2 separate regions of the Homo sapiens genome follow, and region 2 is linked to region 1. Evidence: promoter capture Hi-C in human tissues and cell types (Jung and others, 2019). All regions are on one chromosome and are shown on one strand. The core of a region is centred on a gene start or on the middle of the fragment in contact, and the rest is flanking DNA. Distances in the headings are between cores, read along the strand shown.

What was found. Contacts are between HindIII fragments. The study calls those that stand out against the background at their distance.
Region 2: the fragment with the promoter of OR6C2 here is called in contact with a fragment that was not itself captured in region 1 in 3 of the 25 tissues and cell types used here (H1 embryonic stem cells, adrenal gland and ovary).

Annotation. Positions count from the first base shown.
Region 1 is chr12:55,285,343-55,291,559 of GRCh38, forward strand. No RefSeq gene overlaps it. Among named protein-coding and RNA genes, the nearest start is that of OR6C6, 8.1 kb to the right of the region's middle. The HindIII fragment of the contact is 6,606 bases long and covers 1,199-6,217 here.
Region 2 is chr12:55,440,597-55,446,842 of GRCh38, forward strand. OR6C2 (olfactory receptor family 6 subfamily C member 2) reads left to right here and starts at 3,480. Exons shown (of 2, transcript NM_054105.2): 1 at 3,480-3,563. The region is part of intron 1 of LOC124902940 (a long non-coding RNA gene); the gene reads right to left. The HindIII fragment of the contact is 10,123 bases long and covers 3,393-6,246 here.

The sequences.
Region 1 (6,217 bases), core at 3,252-5,751:
TACTTTAAGTTCTAGGGTACATGTGCACAACGTGCAGGTTTGTTGCATATGTATACATGTGCCATGTGAAAAAAAAAGAATATTAAGAATATGATATTTGTAAACATTTTCAGTTGTTTGGGGGGATAAAAATAATTTAACTGGGCCAGGTGCAGTGGCTCATGCCTGTAATCCCAGCACTTTGGGAGGCTGAGGCAGGTGGATCATCTGAGGTCAGGAGTTTGAGACCAGCCTGATATGGTGAAACCCCACCTCTACTAAAAAAGACAAAACTTAGCCGGGCGTGGTGGCATACGCCTGTAATCCTAGCTACTTGGGAGGCTGAGGCAGGAGAATCGCTTGAACGCAGAAGGCGTAGGTTGCAGTGAGCCAAGATCGTGCCATTGCACTCCAGCCTCAGCGACAGAGTGAGACTCCATCTCAAACATAAATAAATTAATTAATTAATTAATAATTTAACTTAAGGCCCTGGTTCAAATTGTTTATGTTGTCTTATAATCTCTGAAGTCTACATGTGATAGTAACCCATGAAATAAATTCAAGGTATAATTTACTTATATTTGAGTTTGGGAAACTTTTCATGTATTTTAAATAATTCATAAACTAAAAGCTTTCTAATCAATTCTGCTTGTGTAAATTTTTACCAAATTAATTAAGTATATCTTTTATACAATAGCATACATAAAACAATGCATTTGGACAAATATTCATATTCATGTAAAAATACAGAAAACATTTACAACATATTAAATAGTTTCCTTTGCCTCTTTCCAGTCATTCTCCATCTCCCACCTCTAACCCCATCTGTCACTGGATTGAGGTGTTCACTGGTGTTCTTTCAGTCACTACAGATGTGTTTTGTCTTTTCTGAAATTTCTTTATTTTATATATATATATTTTAAGACAGTGTCTCAGAGGCTGGAGTGGAGTGGCATAATTATGGTTCACTACAGCCTCAAACTCCGGAGCTCAAGCAATCCTCCCACCTCAACCTCCCAAGTAGCTGGGACTACAGGTGCACACCATCACACCCAGCTAATTTTTTAATTTTTGTAGAGGTGAGGTCTTGCTGTGTTGCCCAGGTTGGTCTTAAATTCCTGAGCTCAAGCAATCCTCCTGCCTCTGCCTCTCAAAGTGTTGGCATTACAAGCATGAACCATGGTACTCAGCCTGGAATTTCTTACAAAAGAGGGCATACCGTGTGAACTTTATGTATGGCTGCTTTTGCTCAGGATAATATTTTTTGAGTTTCATTCATGCTATTGCATGCATTCATAGTTAATTCCTTTTTGTTGATAGAATTTGGCAGAATATCTAGTGTCCTTTTGTGACAGCCAGCATTATCTCCTTTATCCCATACTTTGGTATTTTTATTCTCTGAAGAATATCTTCACATAACTGAACCATTTAGTTTGATCAGTGTGAAACCTGATTACATTCCATATTCTGAATTGCCAATCCCTGAAGGCCTCTATCTTCCTATAATGTCTTTTAGAAATAAGCTGATCCAACAAATGGGAGTTAATTGGAAGGAATTTTTGCCCTATGTCTTGGTGACTCTACTTCTCAATCCTATTCTCCAATGCAGTGGAGCTTCAAAAATTGTCTCTAAAGGAAAAGAAAAAGGATACACATGGAGGATCTCAATTCCTCATTTGCTTGCTCATTTTAGTGACCCATTTCAACCCCAAATTAACTTATACTCTTTTGTATGCAGTAGGCTCCAAGACTCAACCTTCTTTTGAAGAATGGAAGGGAAGCAAAAGTCTGAGAACCAGAGATGAAGCTTGAGGAAACTAGAACTAGAGATTTCAGCTCCAAGCCCTACAGAGAATGATTCAGGAAAGCTCAGTGGGAAATGGCAGTGACTTTCAGTAATTTTTGAGAAAGTTCTAACCAATAGTCTTAGCAGTAAAGTATGTAGTTCTCAAACAGTTAATGAGAAGTTACTATGGATCTCACCTTGCTCTCCGGTTTGACTATAAATACCTCTGGAAAATAACAGCCTCTGCTTCTCTTACAACTTCCAAATTTTGAGCAAAGTACTCTCACTGAAAAACTTTGAGATAGAACTATACTGATCAGGGGATTCTGAAAAATGGCCTCCCGGTATCTCCTCTGCATTTACAGAACAATGAAAAAGGTCAAATACGGGAATACTGCACAATCATAAAAAAAGAATTAAATCATGTCTTTTGCAGCCACATGGATGCAGCTGCAGGCCATTATCCTAAATAAATTAATGCAGAAACTGAAAACCGAATACTGCATATTCTCACTTACAAGTGGGAGGTAAACATTGGGTACACATGGACATAAAGATGGGAACAATAGCTACTAGGGACTACTAGAGAGGGAAAGGGAAGTGATGGTTAAAAAATGACCTATCAAATACTATGCTCACTACCTGGGTGATGGGATCATTTGTACCCCAAACCTCAGCAACATGCAATTCACTCATGTAACAGACCTGCACATGTACCCTTAAACCTAAAATAAAAGTTGAAAAAAAAGAGACATATGTGGTATTCAGTTGGCAACATAGAATTCAAAGTAGCTTCTTTGAAAGAACCAAAGCCATGGTTTCAGAAATATCAAATCATTGCTTCTATCACTGGCTCTACCCAAAGAGTGATATCAGTGTTGGAGACATGCTAGGAGAAATTGAAATGATCTAGGGTCAATGGTCTCATTGTCTGAAGTGTTATCCGAGCTCATTGTCTCACAACCAAGAAAATTAATAAGTGTGGACACAAGGGTGAGGTTGGAGCGAAAGCTTAATAAGCAAAAAAAAGTTCTCCACAGTAAAAAGGAGGCCAAAATGGGTTGCCGTTTTTACAGTTGAATCCAAATTTGGATTCAATTTATCCCCAATTAAGTGTTTATAGTTTCACTGATTACAGACTATAGGCGGACTTCTTTTTTTCTTTTTTCTTTTTTCTTTTCTTTTTTTTTTTTTTTAAGATGGAGTCTCGCCCTGTCACCCAGGCTGGAGTGTAGTGGTGGTATCTCGGCTCGCTGCAACCTCCACCTCCCTGGTTCAAGCAATTCCCCTGCCTCAGCTTCTTGAGTAGCTGCGATCACAGGCGCAAGCCACCACGCCCGGCTAATTTTTTGTGTATATTTTTAGTAAAGACGGGGTTTCACCATGTTGGCCAGACTGGTCTCAAACTCCTGACCTCAGGCAATCCACCTGCCTCAGACTCCCAAAGTGCTGGGATTACAGGTGTGAGCCACGGGGCCCAGCCAGGCAGACTTTTTAACATTCTCTGTAGTTATACTTTAACTAATTTTAATAGTGAGACCCTTATAAATGAATACAATGTTTCAATGCAGGATTACTCTTTTAATCATCAAAACAATAATGTTGTTTTCAGGGGTAGTGGGGTGTGAAATACCTAAAGATGAAGCTTTCAGAAGAAATGGAAAATAGGACTCTAGGAGTAGAACATGGAAAAAAAAACATTTTTAATAATTTAAGAGTCTCGGAATCATTCAGTGATAATACTAGTAATCACAATTTTGGTAATAAATAAAAGTAGCTTGCAAATTTGGATATTAAATGAGAATTTCATATTGCTCATGAATTGCTATAAACGTTCAAAATATAAGGCATTGTATGCCATTCTAAAGACTGTCACCAACAACTGGAAGTAGATGCATTTATGTCATGCTTACAAAGAGCTGGAAGTATTGATCTTAAAACCAGAAACGAGAGGAGTGGGATAGAGAAAAGAAAAAATGTGGTTCGATTACCTTCCTGAAGCCAAGTTGAAATACCTACACAAAGAAATTGTTCTTTTCCTGGCTGGAAGCTTGCTGAATGATTGAATGTGCTGACCCACACTAGTGCTGCTCAAGGAGAAGACTGCATTATTTCCCATGATCAGAATTACTTAACATAAATTTGCTATGTAGAAAAGGAACTAGAATTGAGAAAAAGACTTTGAGATAAACCTTATATTAACCAGTGGTTTTAATGGCATTGTGTTGATAAGGAACAACTCTAGATTTGTTTTCATAACAATTTTATAAAACCATTGGGTCTTATATACAAAAAGCACATATTTATTATATGCAGTATTTATTCAGCAAAGTGATTCATTTTGAGTCAATACACATTTTAAAAGCTTTATTGAGGTGGTATGGAAGAAACTGCATAGATTTAAAGTATACAATATAAGCTTCGACACGTGTAAAATATTTTATATTTTCTTTCTTTCTTTTTTTTTTTTTTTTTGAGACAGAATCTCGCTCTGTTGCCCAGGCTAGAGTGCAGTGACACAATCTCAACGTGCATGAACTGCAACCTCCGCCTCCCAGGTTCAAGTGATTCTCCTGCCTCAGCCTCTGAAGTAGCTGGGATTACAGGCGTGCACTACCACACCCGGCTAATTTTTCTGTTTTTAGTAAAGACTGGGTTTGCCATGTTGCCCAGGCTGGTCTCAAACCCCTGGCCTCAAATGATCTACCCACCTTGGCCTCCCAAAGCGCTGGGATTACAGGTGTGAACCACAGTGCCCAGCCTTATTTTATATTTTCTAAGAATTATATAAAGCTGAAATCATCACTGCAAGTACAATATTGAACATATCCAGCACTACCAAAAGTTTCCTAATGCAACATTGTATCCCTGCTTACTATACCTCTGTCACTATACTTCAGGAATCACTTACCTGCTTTATGTCACTGTAGATTACATTTCTATTTACTATCACATTTTCTAGAATGTTATAGGAATAGAATAATGCAGTATTCTTTTTGACTAGGCTTCTTTCACCCAGCCTAATTATTTTGAGATTCGTCTGTACTACTGCCTATGTTAACAGTTTCTTTTTTTTTTTTTGAGACAGGATCTTGCTCTGTCACCCAGGCTGGAGTGCAGTGATGCAATCTCAGCTTACTGCAGCCTCCACCTCCCGGATTCAAGCTATTCTCATGGCTCAGCCTCCCAAGTAGCTGGTTGTCTTTCAACTAGTAAATTCTATCTGAGCATTTGCAAGGTCTAATCTAAATCAAAACTACCTCATGCATCATCAAGGATAGAGTGAGAGAATTACAGATCATCTGCTATTAATGCTTTCATTCTCAGCAATTTTGATTTTGTACAATAACCATTCCCTTTCAAAACAGATAATTTGTTATATGAAAAAAGTTATATTTGGAATCATTAGAAACATTACAACTGAATATTTAATTTTTTCTTAATTTTCAAGGTGCCTATTTGATTGAAACAGAACCATAAAAATACTTTATTAACTGTCATCTACATGCTTAAGATGGTATCATAGCTATCACTTCATAATTTGTTAGCAATGCATTATTAAAACTGAGTGGTAAAATAAAGGAATTGAACATAAACTAAGATTTGATATAGTACTGTGGTAAACAAGAATAGCTTTTGCCTGCTTTTGTCTACATACAGGAAACCAGAGAATGAATAAAGATGATAATAACATTCCTACGTCAATAAGAAATATAAATCAGTTCTGTTCATACATTTGAATGTCTTAGATATGTGATCATGACAATGATGACAATGATGACAATGACAAAAAAAGATGAAAATGGTGATGAAAATGACACAATTATGGTCCTGGGGATGAAAGTCTTACACCATTAACCAATTACATTATCTGAGGAAAGCTATCTGAGATCATGGGTCCTGAGTTTCCTCAGAGATAAATGAATACATGGAAGGATACTTTCAGACTGAAAATCAAGTGATACTACAATTTTATATTATGAAGATATAGTCTAGATTTTCAGAAAGTGGAGATGAGATTTGTATACAGAATGAGAAGAATTAATGTCTAAGTATTAGGTTGTTTCAGAACTCCTGAAAAAAATAAATCTCGTTTAGTTGGGATCAAATCTCTCTCTCTCTCTCTCCCTCTGTGTCTCTCTCACACTCTCTTCTCTTTCTCTCTCTCCTTATCTCTCCCCACACTGTTTTTATCCAGATGCATGAATATAATAAGATTAAAACTTGTGGGCAAATTGTTTATCTGAAGGACATGAAAGGATTATCTTAATTCAAAACCAAAATGCAATAGTCAGAATTGCTGTATGCTGTGGAGTAAAATGAACTTCCTTAAAATCATTTACTGTATATGTGGTTGGGAGTGAAAATAGAGAATTAAACCCAAACCCTCCCATTGAATTATACTCACAATCCAAAAGTTTATTAAAATATCTAATTTCTTTCTTGTAAATA
Region 2 (6,246 bases), core at 2,230-4,729, 150 kb after region 1:
TCAGACAGTTGATTTGTCTAATGCACACACCTTACAATTACTAGAGGAACAGGAAAAAAACAATCTAAGAAACACTATCATTCAGAGAGGATAGGAATTGGGAATACACAGCAAACACTGTCAATACCAAGTCTAAAATAGAACTTGATAGGCAATGCAGGGGCCTCTTACTCTGTAGCTGTGGGAAGCCTCTTGACTGGTTCCCAGTTACGTTCCTTGAGAATAAGACCCAGCCACTTTTATTTCATGGCTCTTGAGTCACAATCTGAGAGGTATCTGCTTTTCTTTTTTACTTTGCCATATCCAAAAACGTTCTAAAGAAATTTTAAAGAACATTTATTGGGGGAACCCCCCCTCCGATAATTCAACGTTATCTCAGATAGGTTCTTTTCTATTTCCCTAAGTGTCAGCCGGTCTGAGAAATAAAGGGAAAGAGTACAAAAGAGAGAAATTTTAAAGCTGGGTATCTGGGGGAGACATCACATGTCGGCAGGTTCCGTGATGCCCCTTGAGCTGCAAAACCAGCAAGTTTTTATTAGTGATTTTCAAAGGGGAGGGAGTGTACAAATAGGGTGTGGGTCACAGAGATCACATGCTTCACAAGGTAATAAAATATCAGAAGGCAAATGGAGGCAGGGTGAGATCACAGGACCAGGGCAAAATTAAAATTGCTATTGAAGTTTCGGGCATGCATTGTCATTGATAACATCTTATCAGGAGACAGGGTTTGAGAGCAGACAACCAGTCTGACTAAAAATTTACTAGGTGGGAATTTCCTTGTCCTAATAGGCCTGGGAGCACTACTGGAGACCGGGGCTTATTTCATCCCTTATCTGCAACTGTGAAAGACAGATGTTCCCAGAGCGGCCATTTTAGAGACCTACCCCTGGGAATGCATTCTCTTTCTCAGGGCTGTTTCTTGCTGAGAAAGGGGAGTTCAGTGATATTTCTCCTATTTGCTTTTGAAAGAAGAGAAATATGGCTCTGTTCCACCCGGCTCTCAAGCAGCCAGACCTAACGGTTATCTCCCTTGTTCCCTGAACATCACTGTTATCCTGTTCTTTTTTCAAGGTGCCCAGATTTCATATTGTTTAAACATAAATGCTTATGAACAATTTTGCAGTTAACACAATCATCACAGGGTCCTGAGGTGACACACATCCTCAGTTTATGAAGATGACGGGATTAAGAGATTGAAGTAAAGACAGGCATAGGAAATCACAAGAATATTGATTGGGGAAGTGATAAATGTCCATGAAATCTTCACAATTTATGTTCGGAGATTGCAGTAAAGACAGGCAAAAGAAATTATAAAAGTATTAATTTGGGGAACTAATAAATGTCCATGAAATCTTCAAAATTTATGTTCTTCTGCCATAGCTTCAGCTTGTCCCTCCATTCAGGGTCCCTGACTTCCCTCAACAAACATTAAAGAAAAATAAAACTCCCTTGGGACTAAGTTTATTTCTTAGCCTTCTTTTTTCTTTTTCTTTTTGTCTACAGACTGTGGAGCAGAAAATTGATTTACATTCAATCTCTCCTACCCAGGCTAACCACTCAAAAACATGATCCTCTTTTAACATGCTGGATTCTTACTTGTATATATCAATAATCTCACTCATTATTATTTTTAAGTGCCTATTTACACTTAATTACAGATACTTTAAACTTAAGAGATTTTTAAGGCAGAGCTATGTCCTTCTGAAAAAGTCCCACACCCAACAGAAATTACATACTTAATGTTAAGATATTGAGTTAATAGATTCAGAGGCTGAAACAAATAATGTGGTAGCAACATCACTGGCATGTTCTTGCTGTGAGATGGTTTTAATATACCTCAAAGAATGACTAAATTTTATTTTTAACTTGGGGAGGTGAGATATGGTTGGATCTTCAAATCTAATTCCCAGTTGTTTGTGGATCTTCTCTATTCCCATTCATACCAAGTGCCAAATAGGCCAATTCTTTTATCAGTTTCTTTATAGCAAACAGGTTAATTCCAAATTCCCATTCATAAAGCCACAGATGCTTTTGGTATATATCTACCTTTCAGATTATCTCAGGTGATGACTTTACTAAAATTTTCACTACTGCAGCATAACCTAGGCTGTTGCTGCTATATTTTCACTTCAAAGGAAGTCTACAGGTCAAGAAATAAATTTCTTTTAAATGGAGGGGCCCTGAATAATCATTAAAAAATCTACGAAGTGTACATAAAAACATTCAACATATTCTATAGACAATTTTAATAGTATAATTAAGTTTAACAATGTTGATGGAGCAATGGTAATCTGCAAAATTAAATGAATTTCTAATATCATTATATCAAAAATATGCTATGTATAAATAATATGTAAATATTATATAACTATATATTATATATAATTGAAAATAACATAGAACTACACAAATACTTGACAATGAATCTAATGATGGAAGCATAACATACACAAAAGAAACAATAAAATCTTATTGATAAAAATTTACATAGAGGCTATGACTTTCATATCTCTTTGTTATTTAACCTTAAGCAATACTTCTGGCCAGCCCTCCAAACCTAATTTTGTGCACTTTTAAAGCATTCACAGTCAGTTTGAGATGTTACTTTTAAATACGCTTATTTAAAAATCCCAGAAACAAACATTACAAAGCTGGAATGCATTGAAACAGTGGTTCTTAATGGTGTGAACTGTTTTTGAAGGTCATCCATGTAATGATGGTCTTACAAGACATTGTCTGTAGACAGAATAAATAATATATCTGACCTATGTAATTTCTTCTGTTTTTCAAATGTAAATAAGTTATCCTATGATTAACACAATATGAACTGATTTTACAATATCTCTGTATACATAGTAACTTTCATCCACACTGATTTCCATATATGGTAGATACTTCACCAAATTATATTATGGGGGATTAGATTAAGCAAAATATTTTGATTATTAAAAAACAGACATACTCATATCCTTATAAAAGTGTATTAGGAAATAGAATCAGACTTGTGCATTATTTTTCTCATTAGCATGGGCACCAGGCCTCTATCTGATGCTATTGTTCTGCATTACTCTCTCAAAAGAAAGTGTCTCTGTTGCCTCCTATTTTAGTTGCTTTGCCAAAGTTAATTACACAGAAGCTTCATTAGTGATGTTTGAACCTGGCCACTAAGGATCCTCTATTTATTCATATGATCCCAGTGCACTTCCAAGAGATAGAGCAGAAAAAATAAATATTTTGGGGATAGAAAAGCTAACTCTCTGCTCTTCTGAAATCAGAGGAAATCTGTTGCTTTCCTCCCTTACATCAAAATTTCTTACCATTATGACAGAGTCCAAGGAAAATATTTCCAAAGTGTAAAATAAGGAAGTTTCTAAAAAGAGTGTTTATTGTAGCGTGAAAATGCAAAACTAGGAGACCTCAAGATCCTTCAGGAAGTACCTGAAGGTTGATGATCAAGTTAAACCAGTACAAAGTTACAACTTCCTTAACACAACACAGTTCAACCCATTAGGGAGCTGCCACCTGAAATCGTGAAAAATTATCAAAACAGTAAGTATTTTAAGGTAGGTATGACAATTACTTTCTCATTTGAGAGATAAGAGAAAGAAATTTTTGTTGGAGTACTCTTCTGTAATTTTGCTAGTTTAAGCTTGTTTCAAATTTTTAATATGGAAAACTGTAGCGAACATGTTTTTAAACTATTAACAGATCTTTGACAAGACTAAACATCATAGCTAGGACATATTTATGCATTCCTGTGTAGTCACACATGCAGTAGTTTGTGGTCACCCATAAAATATAAAGGACACACAGAAATATGCTTCCAAATCCTTGGAATATATACAAAAAAGCATATTACATTGCTTATATTACATTGCTTATAATGTTAGCTTTTTTCTAAATTGTAAATATTCTCTTATGGTTAAATGTCTGGCCAGAAATAATTCAATCCCTCATATTTATTAGTTCAACAAAAATGCTCCCTTAATGTCTAAGTGACACTAAGACCGAGAGACCTTTGTGTTGTTGCTCATGATGCACTGCACTGCACAAGACGATCAAGGCGTAGAAGACTATTTCACTAAGATAGCTTTTTCCTAGTGTGTGTTCAAAGGGAGAGGCATGAAAACGAAGATGACAGAAAGGATGTCAATTCTCAGTTACTTCATAGTTTATGCTGCTTATTGCACTTTTCATGACCCTGAAGTAGTTGGGAGAAAATTAGTTCTTAAACCAAAATCAAAGAAAAAGGCATAGTAAATTACTAGTACACTACTTTGCTTGTATAAAAGCAAAACTTAGAATACATTGACTTTATCTAACAAAGTCAAAAATGGTATTTGCATGAAAGAGGATTGAGGCAACATGAAAAACCTCAGAATATTTGAAAACAAGGAACTGTTTTTCTTTCCTGGAATAAGATGATGAATAGTGTGAGAGTTTCGCAAAGAGACCAGTTTTGGGGGCAGTAAGGTAATCAAAGGCAACAGTTTTAGTTTTATGGATTTCTTGAAAAACCTTGAGAGTTTCACTAAGAAGTACTAAGAAGTAAGCATATGTGACAAGCTGACTGTGTCTTACTGGCCAGTATGCTCTGTTAGCATCTTCATTCTCATTATGCCAGATTCGTACCATCTCTCTTAACAGATTTGTATTAGGCTTTCTGCATAAGTATGTATTTTCCTGTAATGGTACCTTTAAAGCAAGATGGGCCTTGCCATATGTATCACATGGGATTTTATGAAGCACATGTCCATAAGAGTAAGGAATTCATTTTCCCAGGCCCAGAAGACTGATGATATTTGCAGTAATTTTTTATACGCAAAGCAGGTGAAAAAGCATTCATATAACAAACTAATTGGTATCTTATAAGGAGATACAATTTCATTGAGTGATGGAGAAATAGCAAGAACCCTAGAGACTGTGTTGTCAGATAAGACATATGTTTGTAGCTACCATTATAAATAATTAATGCAGGCTAAGGACTGGAAGCAGTTATTGCTCCATGAACAGAAATAAACTCATTTCCTCTTGCTGAAGAATGTCATAATGGTCAGAGATGACATGAACAAAATAAGACCCATAATGCAAATTAAAGAAGCCAGTTAGTATTTTAGTCATCCTTCATTTGTGCCTGAAATTATAAATATATAAATTAGGTGATTGCTGATGGCATAAGGGACAACACTGATAGGCAGCTTAGATGATGATGTCAAGGGCGGGCAACAAACTTCCTTAATTGCCTAGGTGGTTCTCAAATATTGATGTGCATATGAAACTCTTGGTAATTATACCACAGCTATTCTAATTTCTAATTTATCCACTAGGGCCTAACCTCATTTGCCTATTTCCTGGCTAAAACGTATTAGCTCTGTGTCCCAGAAAACTATACTTGTGACAAATGTCTTTGATATTTCTAATTCAGAGAATTATACACACTAAATAACCTAGTCAAATGCAAGTATTTCTGGAAGAATAAAGTAAAGCATTGGATAAACACTACAGTAGTAATTTCCTTCTTTCCTTCTTTCCTTCCTTCCTTCCTTCCTTTCTTTCTTTCTTTCTTTCGTGAGACGGAGTTTCGCTCTTGTTGCCGAGGCTGGAGTGCAATGGCGAGATCTTGGCTCATCGCAACCTCCACCTCCCAGGTTCAAGCAATTCTCCTGCCTCAGCCTTCCGAGTAGCTGGGATTACAGGCATGTGCCACCACACCCGGCTAATTTTGTATTTTTAGTAGAGATGGGCCTTCTCCATGTTGGTCAGGCTGGTCTTGAATGCCCGCCTTGGCCTCCCAAATTGCTGGGATTACAGTCATGAGCCACCGCGCCCGGCCAGTGGTAATTTTAGTGTAAATTAAATGAGTTTCAAAATACAGAGCCTCGCCTTGTGCATGGCTTGCATCATATTTTCCAACAGCTAGGTGGAAGCATATCCTAACACAGAATTTAGTGGATGTGCTCTGACAGGAAAGCAAAGAGAGAGAAGGATCCAGAGCTGCTTAATTCCTTGAGAAGAGTGGAGAACTCCATGCAATAAATGCACACAGCCAGTATACCTCAGGGAATCAGGCAAAAAGAGGTTGGGAATTTAGAAAGTTGAGTGTGGAGAACAAAAGCTGTGGAGGCAAAATACACTTGTCACAACTTGTCTTCTGAAAAAGAGGAAGATATATTCACTCTTAGTCAATACAATATAAAGACTGAAAAAAAAATTAAAAGTGCCATTGCATTTCTGAAGAGAAAAAGA